Linked DNA regions of Homo sapiens: all the other regions are linked to region 3. The links are contacts of gene promoters, found by promoter capture Hi-C in blood cells and fetal thymus (Javierre and others, 2016). All regions are on one chromosome and are shown on one strand. The core of a region is centred on a gene start or on the middle of the fragment in contact, and the rest is flanking DNA. Distances in the headings are between cores, read along the strand shown.

Evidence for each region. The method cuts DNA at HindIII sites, captures the fragments that hold promoters and counts their contacts. A CHiCAGO score of 5 or more calls a contact.
Region 1: a fragment that was not itself captured here is called in contact with the fragment with the promoter of ARID5B in region 3 in 1 of 17 cell types (total CD8 T cells); the score reaches 5.7 in total CD8 T cells.
Region 2: a contact is called between a fragment that was not itself captured here and the fragment with the promoter of ARID5B in region 3, in 4 of 17 cell types (neutrophils, non-activated CD4 T cells, activated CD4 T cells and 1 more). The highest score is 6.0, in neutrophils.
Region 4: a contact is called between a fragment that was not itself captured here and the fragment with the promoter of ARID5B in region 3, in 17 of 17 cell types (activated CD4 T cells, fetal thymus, neutrophils and 14 more). The highest score is 23.1, in activated CD4 T cells.
Region 5: a fragment that was not itself captured here is called in contact with the fragment with the promoter of ARID5B in region 3 in 2 of 17 cell types (monocytes and total B cells); the score reaches 6.8 in monocytes.

What each region holds. Positions count from the first base shown.
Region 1 is chr10:62,376,914-62,379,613 of GRCh38, reverse strand. It overlaps ZNF365 (zinc finger protein 365), which reads right to left. Exons shown (of 5, transcript NM_014951.3): 2 at 2,678-2,700. Among named protein-coding and RNA genes, the nearest start is that of ZNF365, 3.9 kb to the right of the region's middle. The HindIII fragment of the contact is 3,368 bases long and covers 1-2,700 here.
Region 2 is chr10:62,209,587-62,212,286 of GRCh38, reverse strand. All of the region lies in intron 9 of RTKN2 (rhotekin 2), which reads left to right. Among named protein-coding and RNA genes, the nearest start is that of LINC02621, 48 kb to the left of the region's middle. The HindIII fragment of the contact is 516 bases long and covers 1,140-1,655 here.
Region 3 is chr10:61,900,433-61,903,132 of GRCh38, reverse strand. ARID5B (AT-rich interaction domain 5B) reads right to left here and starts at 1,434. Exons shown (of 10, transcript NM_032199.3): 1 at 1,403-1,434; 2 at 720-974. The coding sequence starts at 1,423. RefSeq lists a silencer at 1-2 and an enhancer at 1,242-1,744. The HindIII fragment of the contact is 3,094 bases long and covers 650-2,700 here.
Region 4 is chr10:62,243,089-62,245,788 of GRCh38, reverse strand. The region is part of intron 3 of RTKN2 (rhotekin 2); the gene reads left to right. Among named protein-coding and RNA genes, the nearest start is that of LINC02621, 15 kb to the left of the region's middle. The HindIII fragment of the contact is 7,871 bases long and covers 1-2,700 here.
Region 5 is chr10:62,164,790-62,167,489 of GRCh38, reverse strand. No RefSeq gene overlaps it. Among named protein-coding and RNA genes, the nearest start is that of LINC02621, 93 kb to the left of the region's middle. RefSeq lists an enhancer at 654-783. The HindIII fragment of the contact is 2,565 bases long and covers 141-2,700 here.

The DNA.
Region 1 (2,700 bases), core at 26-2,525, 480 kb before region 3:
AGGGTGCTGTCCACAGTCCCATTCTTAGACCAAGAGCTCCAGTGTCCTCCCTGGAAACAAGACTCTTTCAGTCCCACTTTATGTACAGAAAGAGTGATTATTTGAGGCCTGAATACAGAAACTGATGGGACTGGCCCAAATGAACGTTTAAAAAAAAAAAAGACTTTGTTTATGTTTAAAAGTTTAAGGCAATTTCACTGCGCTTTCATTTAAAACACTTTGTTTTCTTTTTTTAAAATATCATTGCTTTTTTCTATTAGTCCAGAAATGACATACAAAAATCACCTTGTGGCTGGGTACCGTGGCTTACAACTATAATCCCAGCACTTTGGGAGGCCAAGACCAGTAGATCATCTGAGGTCAGAAGTTCGAGACCAGCCTGGCCAACATGGCGAAACCCCGTCTCTACTAAAAATACAAAAAAATAGCTGGGTGCAGTGGTGGGCGCCTGTAACCCCAGCTACTTGGGAGGCTGAGGCAGGAGAATTGCTTGAACCCAGGAGGCAGAGGTTGCAGTGAGCTGACGTCATGCCATTGCACTCCAGCCTGGGTGACAAAGTGAGACTCTGTCTCAAAAAAAAAAAAAAAATCAACTCGTAATTTATCCTCAGGCATACTCACAAAAATGTGAACAAACATGTACAAGGATAATAACCAAGGCACTATTTCTAATACTAGGAAAATGGAATAAAACTATATATTCATCAATAACAAACTGGTTAAATGCATCATGATGCATCCATACCATGGAATACTACACAACAGTCAAAAAGAGTAGTATAGTTCTGTACTTAGTAAACAAAAGATGCCTGAAATCTATTATATTAAAAACAAAAACAATTCAGCGTGCAATTGGCAGAACAGTATGTGTCACAATTTCATTTAGAAAAATGGAATCTGTGTGTGTACGATTGCAGGCACACAGGAAAGGTCTGGAAGGACATTTACGGAACTTAACAGTGGCTGTCTCTGAAGGACAGGATAGGATGTGCTTGGATTGGAGAGGCTACTTTTACACATATAATTCTCTCCTATTCAAGTTTTTCCTGTTTTAACATGTCTTAGTTTTTCAGTTGGTGCTCAGGTGGCAGCCTTGGATTAACCATAACATGTAACTGACCCATGCATAGCCCACTTTTATTTAGACAGATATTTTTAACAATTAAGCATTCTTGAACCCATCACTCCAGGCAACTACTACCCCAGATCTCATGTTCATTATTACTCGTGTAATTAATTAGTAAAATACAACAAATAAATAAGTTCAAAAAATTAATTTTGTTGCCTTTTAAACTCACTGCTCTTGAATGAAGCAAAAATGTTCAAATTTAATTCTAGGCCTTTCTTTACGCATAGAGTAACCACATCTGCCCTTTTTTCAACAGCACAGTGCGGGTCACTCTGGTGGCCATTAACGGGTCTAGACACTAACTTCCCACCAGGAAACACCAGAAACCAAAAGGGAAACATTTTTCATTAGAGATTATTTCCCTAGGAGCAAAGTAAGTCAGAGGCTGATTCAAATCCATCCTAACTACGTAATTTAAAAAATGTCTCGCCTGAACAAAAAATGTCTAGGCTTCCCCTCAAGGTAGAACGTAAGCATTTAAGTGATAGCAAGTAATGATCTCTTTAATCTATGGAGTGTCTCAGGAAGTTCTAATTATTACATTTTAAGAGACAACACAAAATAGAAGAGTGCCAGAGGGCAAAGAAAAGATGAAATTAAATCAATCTCTATAATAGAACTCAAATTATTTGGAAACCTACCTTTTAGGATGTTTTACTCCATCAATTTTAATGTCCTTTGATTCCATGAATTTCTAAACCTCTATTTAAAATGAAATCTGACATTCTGCATTTGGGAAATACACTGACTTGTAATGTACACTTTTCTAGTTTGGGTTAAATCTATACTTACTGATAAAGAAATGCTTCTCTAAGTATGATGATTTCTCAAGCAATAGCTTCTATGATCTATAACTTGTGAAAACCAATCTCAACTCTTTGCAAGTGGGCAAAACTTAAATATAACAAAAAAAAATACATCATTTGCCAAAAAGTCAAGTCTCAAACTTAAATCATAGAAGTATAGCAATATCAGAAAGTCTTTCCTCTGGGTGCCCTAATGTCTGCTTCTCCCAAATATAAATTAAATTAAATGGATTCTCAGCTACTAACATTTAATTAACCTGGGCAGATAATACAAAATGGCAAATAAACCAAACTTATTTATACTGGAGGAATGTTTTTGAACTTAAGACAGCATCTTGCATTGACTTTATAATACGGAGACTGTCAAGAATGAACAGCTCACTTAGCTCACCCTTTCTGCCTTCCCATTCAACTCACCCTTGCACGCCATTTGGTGCTAGGAATGGATCCCACCATGGCTAGGCTGTGCTAGTCTTCTCTCTAAAAGCATAGTCTGTGGTTTACAAATTCCCAGTTGAGAAGGAATTAGATATTTGACTTTAATGCTGCTAGGTTGCAGACCGTGCACACAGAGGGTAAATGATATCAAAGCCTTGTTCCTCCTGGTTCAACTATATCAATAAGAAATGCAGTCAAGGCACCTGCAAATAGCAAAAATCAACCTTGCTTAGCATTTGCTTGTAAGGCGATTGGGGTGCTGCTTAAAGCAATGGGGTTAGCATCCCCTGTCAGCAACACTTACTCTTCTTTCCTAAGAAGCTCCTC
Region 2 (2,700 bases), core at 148-2,647, 310 kb before region 3:
AGCTATTCTCCTGCCTCAGCCTCCTGAGTAGCTGGGATTATAGGCACCTACCACCATGCCCGGCTAATTTTTGAAGTTTTCGCTGTGCCCTGTTGGTAGTGCCTACAAAACAGCTAGCTACTGGCCATAACTATTATTTACCTAAAAGTTTTAATTACCCCATATATATATATTTTTTTTTTAAGTAGAGATGGAGTTTCACCATGTTGCCCAGGGTGGTCTCGAACAATGTATTCTTAAATAAACAAAGGATAAAAACCAGTTTGGTATTTTCTGATACAGCAGGTAAGGATCAAGTAAAACTTTTAAGAATAGTGTTCCTCGGCTGGGTGCGGTAGCTCACGCCTGTAATCCCAGCACTTTGGGAGGTCAGCACGGGCGGATCAGGAGATCAGGAGATCAAGACCATCCTGGATAACAGGGTGAAACCTCATCTCTACTAAAAACACAAAAAATTAGCCAGGCATGGGGGCACACGCCTGTAGTCCCAGTTACTCGGGAGGCTAAGTAAGGCAGGATAATTGCTTGAACTTGGGAGGTGGAGGTTGCAGTGAGCCGAGATTGTGCCACTGCACTCCAGCCTGGGTGACAGAGTGAGACTCCATCTCAAGAAAAAAGAATAGTGTTTCTCTTTTAGTTTTTAGTATATTTCTAATGGTCTCTAAGATCTTTAAGCTTAATAATGTTAAACATTAAATACAAATCAGAGTTTTTTGTCTTTTGATTGTCTTTCTTCTTTTCTCATGAAAATAATTTTCCTTAATGCTACTTAAAAATTATTTGAAAACATAAATTTCACAATTGCTAAGGTATATAAATAATAGTTCTGTTATTTAGATCACAGGATCTGTTCTCAAGCTATAATTCTTGTCCTTCTAAATGGCATTTCTTGTAAGGCTAAGTTAGTTCATTAATTTTCATAGGGAGCCATCTGTGGAAATAGTCACATTAAGGGAAGAAAAGCCTAAGAGCTATTCCCCTCCCATTGTCAATCCAAATTTGAAAGGGTGATTTACTTCAAAGTGATTGCTTCAAATTCAGAAAACTTCACAAGAATGTTCTTGAGCAAGACATTCTCAATAACAGGTACTTAACTGAATTTCCTACACATTATAGAAAGCATTTTGTTAACTAAAGCTTTATCCATTGTCAATATGGTGAGGGGTGTGACGGTTAAAAAAAAGTGTGAGTCTTTGAGATCAAGCCTTTTCTTGTTTTAAATATTATATACATCATTCATTTTAATAAAATCTGTACTAAACAAGTCAATAACACTATTTAGTGTAGTAGACTTTGGATAAATTGTTTTGAAAATACTTTTAACTATTATATTTATCATAGAACCTAGAAAGCAAAATTATTATGAAGCACATGGGATTTTAATCCAATTATATTAGTTTCCTTAATATCTAATCATATCAACTATTCAGATTTTTAAAAGTAAATATAGCAAAAATAATTTTTCAAACATTTTCCTGTAGGAGTTTACATCTGATTTAATTAATATAAATTTAAAATAATTATATTAAACTGATACTAATCATACCTCATGGTTGGTTTAACTTACAGCTATGCATTACATATTTCAAACATTCCTTGTCGTATACATGAAGATATCCTTTTTTGTCATTAGAGTATATATAAAGTCTAAAGCTTGTTTTTAGCACCAACATTTTGTCTTCATTGCTGATTAACAGGACTTCAGACGAAGCACTTTTCAAATAACTCATTTATCTTTACAGCATGTTTGTAAGGAAGATGTGAGATATCTGCATTACAGCCAAGAAAGAGGCATTAATAATAGACTGACTTTGGTTTTTGTGTTTGTATTTTATTTTTTAATTATTTTCTTTGGAAAAAAATTCAAGGTAATTTATACATAGAATAGTATAAATGAACCCATGTGTACTCTCACACATTGCCCCCACATTAGATATATTTTGAAGCAAATCCTAGAGACCATATCATTTTACTTGTAAATATTCCAATTGTCACACTTAAGAAAATTTATGGTTTTATATATAAGTTGTCATATGTAGATATAATTATATGTAGTTAATATATCGTTAAAAATCCAGGCAGTCTTTAAGATCCCTAGTCTCAATTTTTGTAAGTTTTTGAGTTAGGATCCAAATAAGGGCCACATATTATGGTTGATTGATTAGGTCTTTTAAGTCTCTTTAGAAAAAGGAATGCTCATACATTGTTGGTGGGGGTGTAAATTAGTTCAGCCATTGTGAAAGACAGTGTGTTGATTCCTCAAAGACCTAAAGACAGATACCATTCGACCCAGCAATCCCATTACTGGGTATATACCCAAAAGAATATAAATCATTCTATTATAAAGACACATGCACACATATTTTCATTGCAGCACCATTCACAGTAGCAAAGACATGGAATCAACCTAAATGCCCATCAGTGGTGGGCTGGATCAAGAAAATGTGGTACACATACACCATGGAATGCTCTGCAGCCATAAAAATGAACTAGATCATGTCCTTTGCAAGGACATAGATGGAGCTGGAGGACATTATCCTTAGCAAACTAACACAGGAACAGAAAACCAAATACCACATTTTCTCACTTATAAGTGAGAGCTAAATGATGAGAACACATGGACATATAGAGGGTAACAACACACTCTGAGGCCTATCGGAGAGTGTGGAGGGTGGGAAGAGGGAGATCAGGAAAAATAAC
Region 3 (2,700 bases), core at 185-2,684:
TTGCGTGGAGTAATTGCAAACTAGAACATCAAATGGCTTGTCCGGGGGGAGGGGGAGTGGGCGAGAGATAGTTGTTAATGCTTAACGTGTTTGTGCCTGTTACACCACCGCTTTGAAATCCGCCCGGGCAGATCTGCAAGTTATTTGAATGTATTATTCCAGTACCTGTCATTTATCACTTTATTCAACACGTCTTTGCCAACTCAATAGCTTTTGATCTCATTCTGCCTCCATTTCGTAATTTCCGCCCTCTTAAACATATCAAATACTTACTTTGAAAAAAGAACAATATCGAAACCCACCGAAAGAAATCCACCCAGACACGACCGAGCCAGACACGAAGGTAAATTTTCAAAAGGCAAAAAATATAAAAAGCATGTGATGTTCAAGAGGCAATAGCAGGAGAGCAAATGAACACACACACACACATACACACACACACACACACACACACACACATCCTTGAACAAAACCCTTCTCGAACAAGTTATTTGATCTTGACTAAAATCAGCAGTTGGATCCTCTTTGTAAAGCTGACAGCCAAACTCTGACAATGGCAAAATACTCGAGCCCCAGCTAGTGGCGCTACCCCTTTAAAAAAGGAGTCGATCCTGCTTGCCTGCAGAAGTGAATACAGTATTTTCAAGCTTGCCCTGTAATAAGCATTACTAGGGGGAAAAATAATAAAGAAAGAAGAGGGGGACAGACAGGTTTACCACCTCGCCATGGTCGCTATTTCTGCCCTGGGGAGTGTCTTCTGGGAGGAAATAAAGTTTAGAGCTGGATAAAAGTTGCCGGCTGGTCCTCTCTTCCCACAACAGCTGGAGCTCCGCTATGCAAATCGGATCCTTTGGCGTACATCTTACAAAGAAAAAGTCGCCAAGGGACAAAATTCTTGGTTTGCCTTCAAGGTGGAATTGAAAAGCCTTGTAGAAAATGTAAGGTCCGTGCAAGCCACACGGTGAGCCGACCCACTGCAGGGGGGGAAAAAAACACCAAATAAATAATGTAGCCATCAGAGCACAAACATCTATTCCCAGACACATTTACACACAGACATCCACTCTCTTAATACAGACGACCCAACAGATATAACGCTGGGTGGAAAAATAATAGCACCCACAAATTTTCTGCTTCCCTAAAAAAAAAAAAAAAAAAACTCAGGGCCCCCCACCGCCACTTCTACCCACCTCCCCATTTGAGGCGGTAAAATTACATTATGTATGTATGATCAGTGCAGGGATTTTTTTAAACAATAAAAATGATTTTGGGGGATGCAGAGGGTAAAAGTTTGGTGAAAAGTTTGTGGGGGGTGTGGGTGGGTGCAGAGGTGTGGGTGAGCTGGGGGGTTGGGGGGTGCCGGGGGGTGCCGGGATCGGAGGAGCGGAGGAGAGCGAAATACCTGGAGTGAGTTGGGCTCCATCTCGACGTTCTGAATTGATTGAACTCAACATTCTCTCCAAACTTGTTGGCTTGAATGGATTGCATCAGGTCCTGGCAGGGAAACGCATTCTCTGCCTTCAGCCGGCGTAATGTCTCAATATAAAACTGAGCTCTTGCCTCCCTTCGGGCACCGAAATGATTGAAAATATGTCCTAATATTTCTATAACGACTCAATTTTCAGCTCCTGAAAAAACTATGTGGGTTTTCTTCCAAAGATGGATTGATCAAATTCATAATCGAGAGAAAGGCGCCATACGATCTCGGCGGGAAGAGGATGGATCAAGGCAAAAAACACACAAGAAGATTTGTAAAAATAAAAAGCACCCTAAAACTGTGTGGAGATGTGATTCCTCTCTCTCTAACCGCTCCTGTCTGGGATATCGTCTGATGAGATTTTTGGAGGAGAGGAGGGGTAGCGAGCTCCACTGTGCATCTGACAGGACCTGCTTGTATATGTCTAATATAAAGAACATTTCCTGCAGAGATTCCGGGGCGCTGCTCCTCTTTCTAATGCTTCTTAGCAGATTTGCTGTTATTAGACATGTAGATTTGTTTGATAGTTAAATTACGCTTCCTCACTGCCATGTTTTCGAGAACTAATCTGTTAAATTATCTTTTGATGCCTATTTACATGGAAGGGAAAAGTGGGTTATCGATTATATAAACATATAAATATTAATGCATTTGTTCGCTTCGCAAAAAAATACTCAGCAAAAAAAAAAGAGACAAGTGAGCAGTGCACACACATCTTAGGATTTCGCAAACAATATTGAACGGACAGCGACTGCATTTAGGGACTGGAACAATAAACGATGCATGATAAATCAATAAATGCGAGAAGCGAGTCTGCTCAGAATATGAATTCAGGCTCCCGGTTCTGCGTGTGCATTCTTTAATTTTGAAGTATATACACTAGTACGTGTTTACAATGCTGATGGACGCCAAGGGCGCTCTCAAATGATAATGTGTTTATATAACCCAGCGCTACAGGAATAATATACCGACTCCTACCCCACCCCCATCCCCTCCCCCGCCAAAAAAGGGAGGGGAGCTTCCTCAATAATAGTTTGAAACTGAAAAAATCCATTTGCAAACTAGTTAAATACAACCAGAAATTAAGCTGTTGAAAACCGGGGGCATGAACCGTAAGACAATAAAGGCTTTAAATGTGTATATTTATTGTTCTGGAGCCCTGGAGCATTGCGAGGTTTGCATGCACGGCTATTATGCAAACACAGAGAAACTTAAGAGCGACA
Region 4 (2,700 bases), core at 182-2,681, 340 kb before region 3:
CTACAGTTTTCTCCCTAGTGCAGTCTTGTAAAATAGGTAGAGTAATTGTTATTTTCTACAGACTCAGAGGCTAAGTGACTGAGCTAGGCCAAACCCAAGTCTTTTGACTCTGTTCCTTTCCTGCTCAGAAGCTATAATAATGTTTTTAATGTTTTGTCTAGGTCAGAAGTTCCATGAGGTTTTGGTACCATGTTTATTTTGGTCATCACTTTACACCCAGAAGCTAGCATGGTGCTTGGCTCATAGTAATTGCTCAGTGACTCTTGGATGGATGGCTGCTCTTCATTGCCTGTAGTGTAAAGACCAAACATTTTTCTCCAGTCTTCCATTTTGACCCAATTTTTTTTCTAGTCATATCTTCTATTACTCCTAAACATAAGCTGTCGCCTTTAGCAGACATTTCTCTCCTTGTCCTGGCAACATAACCCATGCTTCTGACACCCAATTAGCTTGTGAAATAACTACATTCTCTTAAATATCTGTTTGTTTATCTATATATAATATAATCTCTGTTACCGTTCCAACTAGAAAGGATGTTTCCTTTCTCTCAATTCCTAATGCAGTTAGGAGACCCTTCACCACTAGATGGCACTTATGCTGTGCAGTCTCAGTTTCTCCAAAGTGTTCAGGAAGCTAAAGACAATGGCTTGGAGATGCCACAGATTGAAATGAATACATGGCTGACTCGTGTGTACACTAGTCAGATAATGCACTTTTACAAATATTTTCTTATCAGTACATTTTTGAAACAATAGTATATACCTCCATTGGTCCTTAAGTAATCACTAGGTTATTGGCTAAAAGTCTTGTACTAGAGAGCCTGCTGCTACATTTGAGGTACTGTCACCTAAGGAACTGTTTCTAGTAATATTTTTCTGGATAAACAAAATTATCACACAGGACGGTAGACCTACATTTTACAAAGTACGTAAATGGCCAAAATCTGAAGAATTGCATTCAGCTAAGCAAAATATTCTTCAGAAAATAACTGGAATATGTAAAAATTTGTTGCTTGTTTTATAGTTATTTATATTTGTTTTTATCTTTATAATACAAAACAAAACATGTTTTATCCTTGTATTCTTTTGCTATCAAACATGTATTTTTATGTGGTATTGTTCATTATGTGCAATAAATTTTTTGTGAATAAATTACTATAGATCTTTGAGATTTTATAAAAACTAAACATATCCTTCATTTCTTGCTTCTAATATAGTGTCACTCAGTATATAAATGACATATGTTAAGTTGCTGTTAAACACTCAAATGCCATGATAGTCAACATCTATTGTCATTTCATAACAGTTTATTGATTGTAGCAATTCATAATATTAGAAATAACTGTACATTTAGAAGGAGGCTCAAGTAAAAGTATTTAAAATAAAATAAAAAACTATTTCCTGCCCACAATTACTCAAGTGTAAAAATTGAACTTATTTCTGCATGTGTTTCTTCTTTCCAAAAGATAATTTTAAATTAAGGAACGGAAACTCTGAGAAAATCGGATACTTACGTAATGTCTTTTCATCTTTGCCTAGACTTAATTATATCTTGTATGTGTTTGTAAAAACAAAATAAAAAATGAATTCACCTTTATAAATCCATTTTTTCTTGATATTGGGATGAAAATGTGACCTTTGTTTTGGTAAAGATGAATATTTGCAACAAAGTGTCATAATGTTTTGAGATTACATTGATAGCCAGAAAATACCTGGGTTTTCTGTTTCCAGCTACATCACTCCCTGGCCAGGTCTTTATGAAACTAAATCACAAATTTATTATTTCTGCTGAACATCAAATATTTACCATATGTAAATGTAGTATTTACCGTAATTATATTGTGGTAATTAGCTTAGTCACCGACTACTAATTTAATGAATAAACCAAATCAGTTCACCAAGTACCTTAGTTTTCACTTTTGAAAATGATAGACAGACTTCTGGGACTTGATAGCATCAAGTCAGCTGTCTTATTATGACTCTCCCAGTTTACCATTAAAATGGCAATGAAGACATAAAACAAGACAAAAGTTAGAGTACTGTAAACTGAAACTGAGCCATTTGCAAGAATCTGGAAGGAAGTTCTATCATTGGAAGCTGAATTCAGAAATAGAGTTGATGGGTTACAAATCCATTGCTATCTGAAGAGCACAAGACTACCTGGAAAATCGGTATCCAGCTTCTCCTCTTGTGGAGCTGATATCTACCCTCCTCTCTTCGGCATGGGATAGAAGAAGGCTGACCCACAGGTTGTGGGTGTACAGCAAAGGAAGTCAGGATCCATGTCCCTCCCATGATAGTGTAAATAGTTAATGCTCTGTTAATCCTAACAGAGCAAGAACAGCTGTGAATAAGTACAGTTGTGAAATGAAATGAGTCAGCAGCTGTGGTCAAGCAAGAAGAAGTGGACTTTTTGGCAGGATATCAGCCAAGTCATAATTACAAAACAATAAAGCATTCTCATAAAAATCAAAAACAAAATTACAATGTCTGTTATGCCAATATAATTTAACAATTTTAGAAGTTCTAGCTAAAATAATAAGAATAAAAGATGAAACTATTGAAAATAAATTCATAGGTGGGAATTGAGCAATGAGAACACATGGACACAGGAAGGGGAACATCACACACTGGGGACTGTTGTGGGGTGGGGGGAGGGGGGAGGGATAGCATTAGGAGATATATCTAATGCTAAATGATG
Region 5 (2,700 bases), core at 174-2,673, 260 kb before region 3:
GATTATCTACGACCAAATATAATATGTTTAATGTATAAATGACACTCTTGCCACACAAACTTCCTTGTATCTCTCTCCCTTAAAATGTAATTAGTTTCTTTTTGCTACTAAAAAATTTAATGCTTTCAGAAGCCAAAGCTTATTTCTGTATCTCCTGCTGTTTTGGAGTGTCTGTACCTTTCCTCCTGCCAGTTAGCATGGATAATCAAAAGTGAACTGTAAGGAGAAATCTTCCATTTAGGAAACATCAATTTGTACTAAGTCTAATCTAAAAGACTAATATGGAGCATGTGGTACATTCAATAGGAAAATGGCATTTAAATATTAATACTAGATAAATACACTCTTGCTGCTCTCTTTGATAATTTATAAGTCATACTCTTCCAGAAGGAAGTAAATCAGTTTTTTTTCTTTTATGCTGCTGCTCAGTAACATTATAAGGCAATATGTAAATCAAGGAACCATTTTCTTAGTCAGAACTGACAAGGGGAAGTGAAAATGTTGGGTCCAATTTCAACCTCATTTCCTTACAGCCTAGATTTGTGTTACATGCTTGATCCTGACTGGTGCTTTCCAAATTAAATGTATATTTCTCAAACCAATATCTTAAGTGGTAATGTTCCAACAGTCCAAATGTCGATTACCAAAACAAACATTTGTTTCTCTAGCAAGTGTTTTCACACAAAAGCATTTGATTCTCGTACTGCAGCAAACAAACATTTGCTTTAGGCGGTTAAGGCAGCCAAAAGTTCTTGCAGAAACATTTCACAGGCTGGCTGGCATCCCTCTTTGGAGCAGGGCTTGCTGATGTCCGAGATTGCATGTGAAGCCAGCTGCTGACCAAGAGAATCCTTTGCAAGACATTGAGACCATTAAAATGATTTAGCATTTTTCAAAACACATCTTTTGGGAAAATGTGCTTCTGGTTATGATGTTTCCATTAGAAAATGTCTTCATGTCTTCACAATGCTTCATTTGCTAATATAAATTCAGCCTTTGATATAATCACATAACCAAAGTCTTATGAAAGTTCACAAAGGCACATAAAAACATTCACACAACCCAGGAATCATGATTTATGCAAGAGCCCATGAGAGTTCATTACATAAATAGTCCTATTACTACATTAAAGTCTATTTTCTCTCTTGAACAAGATGTAGATTATCTGTGTAAATATATTTTCTTAAGTGCACATCTACTTTACTGTCAAGATACAGCTTCCACATAAAAACCCTCTTGTTTTTCATATTATTTAAATGCTTTTGGAATGAATCAATATTTCTGAGGAAGTAATTTACTTAAATACATGTTCTTTAAAGCATGGGGAAATTGATTCTTAACTTCTTTCCAAAGACAGGGTTTCCTAGCAACTGGGTCAAGATTGATTCTTTGGCTAGTTCTAAACTGAGAATAGTCACTAGCCCACTTAAAGGCAAAGAAGAGTTCTTCTTAGTTAAATGAATGAATGAATGAATGAATGAATGAGTGAAAACACACACACACGTGCACCACACACACAAAATGTCATTTAAAGCGTATTTGATAGAATGCGTGACAATTTGGACCTCTAGCTGATCAACTTCCAATAAGAGTTTGCTGAATACTTTCCATGAGTTTGATTCTATTTTGGCATTGATGGGACTGGGGAACCATGATACAGAGAGCAGGTAAACGGCTGTAATCATCCTAGTAACAATGCATTTAGCAGGTATTATGGGCTAGTGCCTACAGGTGAAATAACTAACCATCAGTAGAAAAAGGCATATCAGGCCCGGCATGGTTGCTCACGCCTGTAATCCCAGCACTTTGGGAGGCCAAGGCGGGCGGATCACGAGGTCAGGAGATCGAGACCATCCTGGCTAATATGGTGAAACCCCCGTCTTTACTAAAAATACAAAAAATTAGCCGGGCGTGGTGGCGGGCGCCTGTAGTCCCAGCTACTCCGGAGGCTGAGACAGGAGAATGGCGTGAACCTGGGAGGCGGAGCTTGCAGTGAGCGGAGGTCGCGCCACTGCACTCCAGCCTGGGCAACAGAGCGAGACTCCGTCTCAAAAAAAAAAAAAAAAAAAAGGAAAGAAAAAGGCAGATCGAGGGACAACCAAGGTCTGTGTGATGTTAAAGCTCTGGAAACTATACTGTCTTTACATGGAAAGCCCAAAGTATTTCTTGTCTTCAAGAAACTTTCAACCTAATTGTAAAGAAAACATACCCCAAAGAATTAGGGAGCAACCTGAGAGAGTAAATGTGTAAGTGTTAGTAATATTAAAGTAACAAAATATTGCGTTTATTGAGTCCTTACTTAATATCAGGGACTGTGCTAAGGACCTGGCATCCTGGTGGAGATGGAGCTTGGGCTGGGCCTTGAAGCAGGTAGGGAGACGTGAAAAGCAAGGAGGGAAGGTCCTTCGAGAAGATGAAACAGCATGAGCAAAGGCCTGGGGGTGGGAGGTGTGCTGTTTGGGACCTGACAGGCTTGGGGTGACAGGTTGGTGTGGGGAAGTTGCACTGAACGAGTAGGTGGGCCTGTGTTATGGTGGAGTCTGAATACCAGACTGACATGCAGAATTGACCCAGCGGGGAAATGTGTACTCGTTCTAGGTTCTTGAATATTGGGGACATGATAACTCCCCCTGTAATTTCTAGAACAAATGGAATATGCATTTGCTGTTAGAATAGCTACTGCCAGAGTTCTCTCCCAAA